Regions from separate parts of the Homo sapiens genome. Here all the other regions are linked to region 2. Evidence: promoter capture Hi-C in human tissues and cell types (Jung and others, 2019). All regions are on one chromosome and are shown on one strand. Each heading gives the region's core, a stretch centred on a gene start or on the middle of the fragment in contact. The rest is flanking DNA. Distances are from core to core; before and after follow the strand shown. Region 1 has its middle 22 kb from the start of LINC01671. Region 2 holds the start of ZBTB21 (zinc finger and BTB domain containing 21). Region 3 overlaps SLC37A1 (solute carrier family 37 member 1).

What was found. Contacts are between HindIII fragments. The study calls those that stand out against the background at their distance.
Region 1: a fragment that was not itself captured here is called in contact with the fragment with the promoter of ZBTB21 in region 2 in 1 of the 25 tissues and cell types used here (spleen).
Region 3: a fragment that was not itself captured here is called in contact with the fragment with the promoter of ZBTB21 in region 2 in 1 of the 25 tissues and cell types used here (hippocampus).

Annotation. Positions count from the first base shown.
Region 1 is chr21:42,591,318-42,595,182 of GRCh38, forward strand. No RefSeq gene overlaps it. Among named protein-coding and RNA genes, the nearest start is that of LINC01671, 22 kb to the right of the region's middle. RefSeq lists enhancers at 1-2,895, 1-883. The HindIII fragment of the contact is 3,564 bases long and covers 364-3,865 here.
Region 2 is chr21:42,009,110-42,012,640 of GRCh38, forward strand. It overlaps ZBTB21 (zinc finger and BTB domain containing 21), which reads right to left and starts at 1,251. Exons shown (of 3, transcript NM_001098402.2): 1 at 1,143-1,251. ZNF295-AS1 (ZNF295 antisense RNA 1) reads left to right here and starts at 85. Exons shown (of 2, transcript NR_119384.1): 1 at 85-475. RefSeq lists silencers at 424-533, 574-883, 1,324-2,063. The HindIII fragment of the contact is 7,901 bases long and covers 1-3,531 here.
Region 3 is chr21:42,526,914-42,530,603 of GRCh38, forward strand. The region is part of intron 3 of SLC37A1 (solute carrier family 37 member 1); the gene reads left to right. It overlaps LOC107987299 (a long non-coding RNA gene), which reads right to left. Exons shown (of 2, transcript XR_007067878.1): 2 at 1-1,912. Among named protein-coding and RNA genes, the nearest start is that of SLC37A1, 15 kb to the left of the region's middle. The HindIII fragment of the contact is 7,112 bases long and covers 1-3,690 here.

The sequences.
Region 1 (3,865 bases), core at 896-3,395, 580 kb after region 2:
ATCGCCAATCCATCAACTTTAACTAAAGGAGATTTATCCTCCATAACTTGGGTGGGCCTGGTTCAGTCAGTTGAAGGGTTTGAGAGCAAAACTGAGGCTTCCCCGAGGAAGGAGAAATCCCACCCGTGGACTCAGCCTCAGCTCTGGCCTGAGAGTTTCCAGCCTGACACCTGCCCTGGATTTCAGACTTGCCTAGCCAGCCCCCACAGTTACATAAGCCAGTTCCTTGAAGTGAATCTGTGTGTGCACATGTGCATGTGTGTGTGTGTGCATGTGTGTGTCCATGTGTGTGTCCGTGCATGAGTGTGCATGTGTGTATGCATGCATGTGTCCGTGTGTGCATCCATGTGTGCATGCACATGTGCATGTGTGTGCATGTGTGTGCACGTGTGCGTGTGTGTGCGTGTGTGTGCGTGCATGTGTGTGCACGTGTGCGTGTGTGTGCATGCATGTGTGTGCATGTGTGTGTGCGTGTGTGTGCACGTGTGCGTGTGATCTCCAACTGGTTCTGTTCCTCTGGCTGAACCTGGAGGATGCATCGTCTTTCTGCATTGTCTACCTGTTTTACAGGGACCTGCCTTATCTTTAAAATCAGAAGTAATTAAGTTCATTTTAAAAGTCAAGGCGAGTACCAAAAAGAATGTAAACACTCTATTCCAAGGCTGTTTCTTCCTGGGACAGTTGTATTTTTAACACATTTTCCCAAGAGTTGCTGCAGCCACTCTGTGTGAGCCCCGCATCCTACCACAGCCTTAGGGACAGCAAGGTCACCAGCTCTAGAAGCTCTGCCTTCAGAACGGCCCACTCTGCAGCCAGCCCCATGAAGACACCTCTTGGGTGCCTGGTGTTGTAAAATTTACCCAAATCCAGAGCCATGATTCCAAACCTGATGGTAGAAGAGCAGCATTCATTTGCTTGTTCATTCATTCAGCACACTCGTATTGCCAAGCCCTGAGAATAAGCGCAGGGATACGGTAATAAACCGGGAGAGCCAAATCGGCCCCATGGAGTCGAGTCTAGGGGAAGCAATAGACGACTAACAAAGGAACAGTAAACAGTCTGGGGCAGGAGCGGGGGGTGTATGATTGTGTATTGACGGTCGTCTTCGAGGATGGGATAAGGGTGTGATGGAATGAACCCTGCAGATCTAAGGAAAGGCCATTCCAGACCCTAGAGGAGGTCCAGGAAGGAAGTTCAGGAGCACAGGCCACAGAGGGTCACTGATTTCACCAATTTCACCAGGATCAGGGTTTTCCATACCACTAAGGCTGGAGGGACAAGGGACAGGAGCGTGAAAGGAGAGGCGAGGCTGGTGCCCCAGGAAACCCAAGCCTGGTCTCAGGCTGGTGAAGAGGTGGATGATGGAGCGAGTGGGGAATGAGTGGTCCCAGTGGCCGGAAAGCTTGCTGGGGGCTGATCTGGACAGATGGGAGGTGGGTGAGGTCCTGGGAGCGGAGGTTCTGGAGACCGGCGGGCATGGCCAATGATGAGCCCTAGGACGTGACTCTCACAATGGGGACTGAAGGGGTTGGAGGGAGGTGCCGTTGGAAAATTGCAGTAAGTGAGAAGAGTCAGAAATGGGAGGACCAGAGGGAAAGCCACTTCTCAGAGAAGAGTAACAGGTTCAACTTTGGTCCAATAATCACAATTTAGAGCTGACAGCAGCTTCAGAGGCCATGTGACAGATAAGGAAACTAAGGCCCCAAAAGCAGCCGTGGAGACCAGACCCAGGGGTTCCGGCCACGGCTCTGTGCCTTTTGTAAAGGCAGCCTATGTCTGCACTCACCTGTGCTCTGGCCCAGGCCGGCCCTGCACTTCGATTGCCGGGAGCCCTGCACGCGGAACTGTGTCTGCAGAAGCTCCTTTTGGCACCTGGGAGGGCACCTCTCATCAGTACTCCAGGACCTCGGCCATCGCCACGGACCGCAGGGTGAACGCTGGGTGGGCTGTACCATGGCCTCGGCCACCGCCTGCAGATCCAGGCTCCCTGCAGCCTGCTGGGCTGGTGGCCTCAGGGGACCGGTGAGCTGCGTCTGCCTGGGCTCCCGAAAGGCCGCTCCCAGATTTTGATTTTGCTTTGTTACCTAGAACCCAGGCCCTCTGTTGCCACAAGAGGGCCCCCCAGCCCCGGCTCACTGAGGCCCTCCCCGTGGAGGAGCGTATCCTGTCCGGTCCGCAGCTCAAATATCCAGAGATCGGGAGACCCCGGCCCTGGCCCCACCCCCGCCCCAGCTGGGCCACACTGCCCCCTCCACCACACCCCGGCAAGCCCCTCCTGGGGCTGCACTCAGTCCTGGGTGTCAGAGGGTCCTCTGGCTTCGCTTGTCACATTTAATGACAAATCAGAAATCAAATGTATCCAGAGCCAGCCTGGGCTTTAGGATAGAAGGGGAGGGCAGGAGTGGGGGCTCCGGGGACAGGGGCTGGCCGAGGAGGGAGGATGGGGGCAAGAGGATATTCGTGGGGCACCCACTCCCCACCCATCCGCCACCCCCTCCTCCCAGGGCTCCTTCTGAGGCCTCGCTGTCCCCGCCTTTTAGTAAAAAGTGGAGAAACAGCCTCACAGGGTGACCTGCTTCAGCTCCCAAAGCCATGCTGTGGCTGACCAGGGTCAGGACCCAGGTACCAGGTCCACGGCTCAGGGGTGGGAGCCAAGCCTCACTCGACTCCACGCTCAGGGCCGGGACCCAGGCCACAAGCCCGACCTTTGTCCTTTCCTCGAGCTTGCTGGGAAGCCTAGACTCACCCAAATCCAACCCAAAAAAGGCTGCAACAAACCAGCCTTGCTTGTGATTTCGTTTTATGATTTTCTTTTCACATTTTCTTACTATGGGAATTCTCATGGGTACATAAAAATAGACAGCTTAATATGCACCATATCCCATCCCTCAGCCTTGACAGTTGTCAACAGCCTGCCTTTCCTGCTTCAAATCTACCATGTAAGCCTTCATTTTATCTCATATGGTTTGCTTTTTTTTTTTTTTTTTTTTTTTTGAGCTGGTGTCTCACTCTGTTACCCAGGCTGGAGTGCAGTGGCGCCATCTCGGCTCACTGCAACCTCTGCCTCCCAGGTTCAAGCGATTCTCCTGCCTCAGCCTCCCGAGCAGCTGGGACTACAGGCTCACACCGCCATGTCTGGCTAATTTTTGTATTTTTGTAGAGATGGGGTTTCATGATGTTGGCTTCACAATGTTGGCCAGGCTGGTCTCAAACTCCTGGACTCAAGTAATCTGCCTGCCTCAGCCTCCCGAAGTGCTGGGATTACAGGCGTGAGCCACCATGCCCAGCCTTATTACGTATTTTTAAGCAAATTATTGGATCATACCATTGCACCCAAACAATGCTGCCGTGTTACACAGCCATTTGTCCAGCCTCCTGTTCTATGGATGAAGATCACCAGGGTTCTCCACTTTCCAGACGAACGAAGCCACTGACGACCCGACAGGCCACGTGACTTGGCACAGCGCAGCCCTCAGGATCAGGGTCCTATCAGAGCCCTCTGGGGATGCTGGTTGTGCCTGGTGGCATTGCAGGAGGGAACGAGCCCTGCCTGGACTGTCCCCAGGTGATCACACACATGCCACCGGGATGAGGCAGGAGGGTGGACCCTTGTGAGAGGAACAAGCCACGGGTGCTCTGTCCCCTGGCATCCCCTCAGCAGCAGGACTCTAAATCCCCTCGCCTCCTACTGAAGGAGGAGAGAAATGAGTAAGAAATTGAAGTTACCACTAACGTTATTTTTAGAAACTGCAGTACGAAATGAAAAAAAAATGTCTCCAGACTGCCGAGGAAACGAGAAATACATGCCTCCAAATTATATGAAAGGCAAGAAAACCACCCAAGTGCCAGTGACTCACAGGAGCTG
Region 2 (3,531 bases), core at 1-2,500:
CAGGGCTGTGAGCGCTTGCACGAAAGGAAAAACCCCAGGCCGTGTGAAGTCTAACTTTCCCCGTCCTCTCGGTCAGGCAATCCCACCGGGGCACCTGTCTAAAAACACCCCGCCTCCGAACGCGCGCTCTTGCGGAATTCTCCCGAACCGCAGAGCCCTCGTGGCTGGGACCGCATAGCAACCGGGGGCAGAGTGCGAGCCCCCAGCGGTGTGCTGGGATGGAAAAGCAGGAGCCGCTGAGGATGGACTACGGGGCGTGTTCCCGAAAAGCCGGGAAGAGATGTGGCGGGGCTGCCGCGGGCGTCTCTAAGGCCGGCACGGGTGGCGTCTTGACTCCCTGCCCCTCCAGCCGCGGACCTCGGACGGGGGGAAGGGGGCTCCTCCAAGCGGGGAGACGGTCGCCGGCCGAGCAGCAGGGCTCCTGGCCGGCGGAGGGTGCTATGCTCTGCGGGACCGCCGGGAAGTCCCAGACAAGGTCTGCGGGGGCTCTGGAGGAAAAAAAACGCGCTGTGAGGTCCAGGCGTCCGCGGGAGGGGCCGGGGGCGGGGAGGGAGCGTCCAGCGGGCACCGAGCGGTCACGCTCCGGCCACCGGGCCGAGGACGGGGCGGCGGGGCTAGGTCCCGGACCGTGAAGGGAGCGGCGGGTCGCGGCAGGTGCGGGGTCCCCAAGGCCGCCGGCCAGCTTCCGCGCACACCCCGCGGCCCGGGCCGCCGGCCCCCAACCCCTGCCCGGAACAGGAGAACGCGCCCTTCTCCACGAGGCGTTTCAACCGCTCCGCGCGAGGGGCGCGCGCCTGGGCCAGGCGTGTCCCCTACCCCAGGGGCAGCTCGGCCAGGGTGAAGAGTGAAGCCCGTGAGGGAATGGAGCATGCGCATTCGCGAGGGCGAGGCCAAGTGCTGGCAGGGAGCGTGCGCAGTGTGAAGGTACAATCGGCTACGTGGGAACCCGGGACATGCTCGGTGAGCGCCCAGGTCCCGCGCACGCGCAGAAGCGCTCGGAGCCCGCAACCCGCTGGTGGAGAAAAAAGAGGAGAGAAATCACCTCAGAGTTACGTCAGGAAAGGCCGCGTTTTGCGGGGAGGCTGTAGCCTCCCAAGGAGCCCCGCAGTTCTCCTAGAGCTAGGGGCGTGACAGTTACTCACCGGTCTTCAGTCTCGAGGCAGACGCCGGGCCCCTTTCCGCTCACACTCGGCTCGCGCGCGCCGCAGCCGCCGCTGCCGCTGTGATTCCATCCATCTTGAATTTGACGTCATCCCACACCAGGGATGAGGTCATCGCAGGCATCGCTCGTCACGTGCGCGGCACTCTGATTGGGCGCCGGGCGCCGGAGGGCGGGGCGGGGGGGGGGCCTCGCGGCGCAGGGGGACGGGGGAGGGCGGGCCTGCCCGGAGCCGCGCGCCGAACGGACGCTGCCGCGCTGCAAGCCCGCGCTCTCGGTCCATGAGGGGAGCCTGCGGCGGCCGTTAGGGGAGGCGGCCGGGCTGGGGGCCACGGCGAGGAGGCTGAGCGCCCCGGCCGGGTGGAGTCCGTCGCGGCGAGGAGCGCGCCGATTCTCAGGGGACTTTGCCGCCTGCCGGAGGCGCCCTTGCTGCGGGGTCGCCCCGGGTCATTCGGCCGCGGTCCTGCCCAGCTGGGCCGCCAGTAGTCCCCGCTTCCGGCGCGGCGGGATGCGTGGCGCGAGCGCTTAGTCCCTCGGAGGGGAGGACGCGCTCCCGTTCACCGGTGGACGGCGGGCGACTCCCCGAGCCGACGACCCCGACAGCGACGGGAGCGACGCGCGGCTTTCTGACGGGCGCGGGCGGCGAGCGGGGCCCTGCGGTCCTCGGGTCGGCGGCAGACGCTCCCGGCCCGCGAGGAAAGCCCGCGGGAGGCGGCTCCTGCCGCTCGCTAGTCGCTCAGAGCGCTTCCATTTCCTCCTCCCGACGCAACCTGGCCACCTGGCCCCTGGGCGGGGACCCGGCGGCCGCGGCCAGGGCGTCCGGGCTCGTTCGCCGCGCAGATGGGGGTCGGTCCTGACCCCCGCCGGGGCGTCCACAGCGGCCCGCAGGCAGCCGGAGACTTCGCATAGTGCCCGGCTCATCGGAGGGCTGTGATCTTTTTTTTTTTTGCAGAAATATTACAACTCCACTGATGAGAAAACTCACTTCGCTTTCAGTCAAAACCAGAAATTAGATAACAGAAATGCCACACTGTCAACACCGACCGGGAGGAAAGCCTCGCTGGCGGAGACCGCTCAAGGGAGCCCTCCGCGCGTTCTCCCAGCCCGGGTCGCAGGTGGAGGGGGAGTGCCTCCTGCAGGGACGGTTCTCCCGCAGACACTCAAACTCCGGGATGTAAAACCCCTGTTAATAATTGTCAGGGGTCTGTTAATTGCCAAATACAGTTTTTGAAAGTTGTATGCACTAGGTAAAATAATTTATGTAATGTTTGGAAGTATGTGAAAGACAGACATTAGATTGATACAAATTAAAAATTTGTTGCCAAATTAACAGCTCTGTTGTAGATTATTAGTTTGACTAATTTTAAGAGGACTCTTAGTCTTACATAAAGAATCTTGCACCTAAAAATTTTCTCCTACAACTTTAAAACACTTTAAATTTTTTTTTTTTTTTCCTGAGATGGAGTCTCTGTCAGTCCCAGGCTGGAGTGCAGTGGCATGATCTCAGCTCACTGCAGCCTCCACTCCCTGGCTCAAGCCATCCTCCCGTCTCAGCCTCGGCAGTAGCTGGGACTATAGGTGCATCCGTCACACCTAGCTGATTTTTGTATTTTTGGTAGAGATGGAGTTTCACCATGTTGCTCAGGCTGGTTTCAAACTCCTGGTCTGAAGCAATCCACCCGCCTCAGCCTCCCAATGTGCTTGGATAACAGGTGTGAGCCACCATGCCCAGCCTAAAGAGTGTCTGTATTTTGAACTGTATGGTGGAAAAGCACAAAGTGACTGTTCTGAAGGTAGAAGGCAACAGTGATTATAAGTCTTAAAAGAACCTTGAGTTTTAGGTTCCCCTGTGATTAGGCTGGGGGAGTGTGTGCTGTTATCCTAGTTTTATAGGTGAGAAAACTAGTACTGGCTTTACCGCATGCTGGAAGCAGCCTCCCTTGAGCGATCCCTTTCTAGCCACCTGCTTAGCTGTTTTTTTGTTTTGTTTTGTTTTTTGTTTTTTCAACCTTCCTCAGGACGATACACATTGGTGTCTCTGCTTTGAGCTATATGATCAGGCTTTTGGCCTCACCATTTCACTGGAATTGACCTGACTGCCAAATCTGGCAGAAACCGTTGCATCTTTCAGTTGCTCTCTTTGATTTGTGACACGCTTCCAATTGCTTCAGCAGTGATTGCTTCAGTTACGCCTCATTCCCTGGATTTCCCACCTCTTGGCTGACTGCTCCTCCTGGGCCGGCTGTGTTGGCCCTTCTGCCCCTGCCCATGCTCGCACTGGGTTTCTTGGCACACACACCCTATGCAGTCTCATCCATGCTTGGAACATATGCCCAGTTGCTGGAGCCAGGAATGTGGGCACCATGGTGGGC
Region 3 (3,690 bases), core at 354-2,853, 520 kb after region 2:
AGTACCAGTAACCAGTCATTATAAATCTGAATACTACTACTTCTTGTCTTTCTGGTTAGAGAAATATACAAACAGCTCAAGAAAATGGTAAATTATAAAGATGGAAGTGACTATTGAAGAGACTTGGTGAGCGTGTTGGAGTTGAAGGATCTGGTGTAGTTGGGGAGCTTGTGTGGGGTTTCAGGATTGACCTAGAAAGGTTGGGTGTGGATTGTAGGGGAAGAAAAACAGCTTTACAGGTGGGAGAACTGCCTTGAGTGCTACGTGCAGGGATGGGCATCTCCATGAAGGCACCACCTGTTGGGCTGGGGGGCTGTTGGGGCAGATGTAGCGTGTAAGGTGGGCTGGCCTTTGGGGGAATCTTTGTCAGGCCACAGCTGTTGGGGTCCACCTGATGACTATGAGGGCCCCTGTGAGCCAGGAGCAAGTGGGAGCCCTGTCCCGGTCCCTCTCCCGGCTTTCCTGGTGGTCCATCTCAAAGCCCCCGCCCCTGACTCTCGTGTGTAGTGGTGTCCAGGCCACTCAAGACTTAGGGCTTCTGAGGAGGCGGCGTCAGGGTCAGCTCTTAGTTCAGTGTCATAAGTAACAATATAAATAACTGCCGCTTACAGAGCCCTGGGGTATGACAAACTGCCACATACATTACCCCTGTGATCCTCACAGCAACCCTGCGAGTGCCCCTGTGAGGAAATTGAGGCTCGGGTCTTCGTTCCCCAGGCAGGGCTGCCACACACTCGAGAATTCCCTGTGGGTCAGGCTGCCTCCAGGGCCCCTACTCATCCTCTCTGTGCCTCAGGGTTTGTCCGGGTTTAATTACCTGAGTACAGTCCCAGCATCACCCTCAGAGCCTCCTAAACGCACAGATTTCCTGACCTAGCAGCTGCGATGTGCCTGGGCATGGATTGGCTTGACGCTGAATCCTGTGGGTTTCTTTACCTTTCAAGATAGATCAGAACATCACACCACATCAAAACTAAACTTTATAGTGCCTTCTGAAGCGCCCGTGTGCTTGAGCTCATGATATAAATGGCATCAACGAAACTGAAAGTAGTAGTGATTCTGTTGACCCACAAAACAGTTGAGTGATTATTTATAGCCTGCATTTCCCAGAATATTGTAAGCAAAACCAAAGCAAAATGTATTTGCTTACTTGAAATTGAACCAGAGGCTGTGAATTAGAAAGTGAGTCTTATTCTGTTATGTCATTTATAGAATGACACGGCACACCAGGTCACATTTAAGTTAGTTAAATGGAATGTTTAGACTTACCTTTGATCACTGCTGATTAATTGTATTTTTCTCGATGATGATGATAAAACCAGGGCTGGGAGGATAGTGGTGTTATAAGTGCAACCCTGTCCCTTCTATCTGCTGCTCCAGCTGTGGCCTAGCCTCAGGACTCAAGGCAAGCGTCTGCCCAAGCTGGTAGACAGGTGAGTCTGACTCCCAGCAGAGATCTTAGTGCGAGCTCTTTTCACCTGGACTGGGCCAGAAAAGAAACCTGAAAGCAGAGGCTTCCCGGAGAAGCTTAAACTGCAGGGGTCCCTGGAGCCAGGGGGATGGCAGCATTGATTTGAATGTGAGTGTGCCCACCCCTCTCTGGACACACAGGACTTAAAAGGAGAAAACTGGCTAGGCGCAGTGGCTCACGCCTGTAATCCCAGCACTTTGGGAGGCCGAGGTGGGCGGATCACCTGAGGTCAGGAGTTCAAGACCAAACTGGCCAACATAGTGAAACCCTATCTATACTAAAAATACAAAAAAAATTAACCAGGCATGGTGACAGGCGCCTGTAATCCCAGCTACTGGGGAGGCTGAGGCAGGAGAATAGCTTGAATCCGGGAGGCGAAGTTTGCAGTGAGCCGAGAGCGCACCATTGCCCTCCAGCCTGGGCGACAAAGTGAAACTCCATCTAAAAAAAAATGAAATAAAATAATCCTCAGTGGCAGACAGAAAACAAAGTCTGAAAAGCTGGAAGTATGTACTATGGGTGGGAAACTTGTTATTTGGAAAGTTCCAATTCTCCCAGTGTTAATATTTAAATAAAATGCAACTCCAGTGAAAATCTTAGCAGGGTTTTTTTTAATTGAATAAAATAATCTTAAAGTTTGTATGAAAGAATGTCCAGGAATTATCAAGAAAAGTGTAAAGATAACATTTTATGATATGAAAATATGCAAAAGATTAACATATTTTAATACCATAATCAAATTATGATATTACATGAGAATAGACAAAAAAGTCAGTAGAATAGATTAGAAAATATGGAATATTTGACAGAGCTTATTTAATAAATTTAATAAATGGTGTCGGCACAACTGGTTATTCGTCAGGAAGAAATAAATGTTGAATCCCTATTTTATAAAAACAAATGGCCCGGGCACTGTGGCTCACACCTGTAATCCCAGCACTTTGGGAGGCCGAGGCAGGTGGATTACCTGAGGTCAGCAGTTCGAGACCAGCCTGACCATCTCTACTAAATGTACAAAAGTGAGCTGGGCATGGTGGCGGGCACCTGTAATCCCAGCTACTTGGGAGACTGACGCATGAGAATCGCTTGAACCTGGGAGGCGAATGTTGCAGTGAGCCGAGACCACACCACCGCACTCCAGCCTGGGTGACATGAGTGAGACTCCATCTCAAAAAAGTAAAATAAAATAAATGGATTAAAGACATGAATGTAAAATACAAAAAGTACAAATCCAAGAAGAAAATTATGTTTATCGTAGGAGTGAGTGTGAAGTTAGGAAACCCAAAGAAACAACGGGCAAGGGGGATGAACAAGCAGTTTACAGACACGGAATTCAGATCGCCAGGAAATATGTGAATGGTGTTCGAGTCTGCCGGTATTCCATATGCAAATTAAGGCAACACTGTGCTCAGTGGCTGGCACAGCATTGCCCAGGGCAGTAAGCGCTATTCACTGGTCGTGAGGGGAGAGGAGTTTTCATGCGTTCTTGATGGGATGTCAAGCGTTAGCGCCTTTTGGTGACACCCAGTGAAATAAAAAACACTACAGCCTTCAGACATACTTCTGGGAATTTCACCCTAAAAATAAAAGCACCTTACTTAGGAATATCTTCATAAGCATCTTTATGGCAGCTTTGTAGTGACCAAAAAAAGCAAAAAGGAAAAAAAAACAATGCTGGATATCAAGGGAACCTAATAAGTAGGTAAAAGTTTGAATAAATTATCACAAGTCCGTATTATGAAATGTGCAGGTCCCTAAAAGAATTCATCACAGGCAAACCAGTTGACTCAGAAACATTTCCAGGAGGTACTTTGAGTAAGAAGTTAACATGTGCATAAGGATGTATAGAATGATTCCATTTTTGAGAAGTAAACAATGACCAAGAAGCTCCTCCATCTATTTCTGTATCCTTCATGAGTGGAGCATTTGCGTGTCTGTCCCTGAGTGTGTATAATGCATTTCACGTGGCACCTGTGACTCATCGCAGGAGGCTGGCCGTGGGCAGGTGCTGTTGTCTGTGGGGGAGAGCCTGGCTGGTCGCTCCTACTTTTGGTACCAAAACTGTAATTGCTCTTCCAGGACTTAGATAATGCTTTGGAGAATTCTTGTAGCCTTATAAAAGGAATGTGAAGGACTGGTTAGAATCAGTGCACCCACACAGCCTAATGAGCCACGTAAAGTTGACTAGACAGATCGTCAAATGCAGATGATACACACAC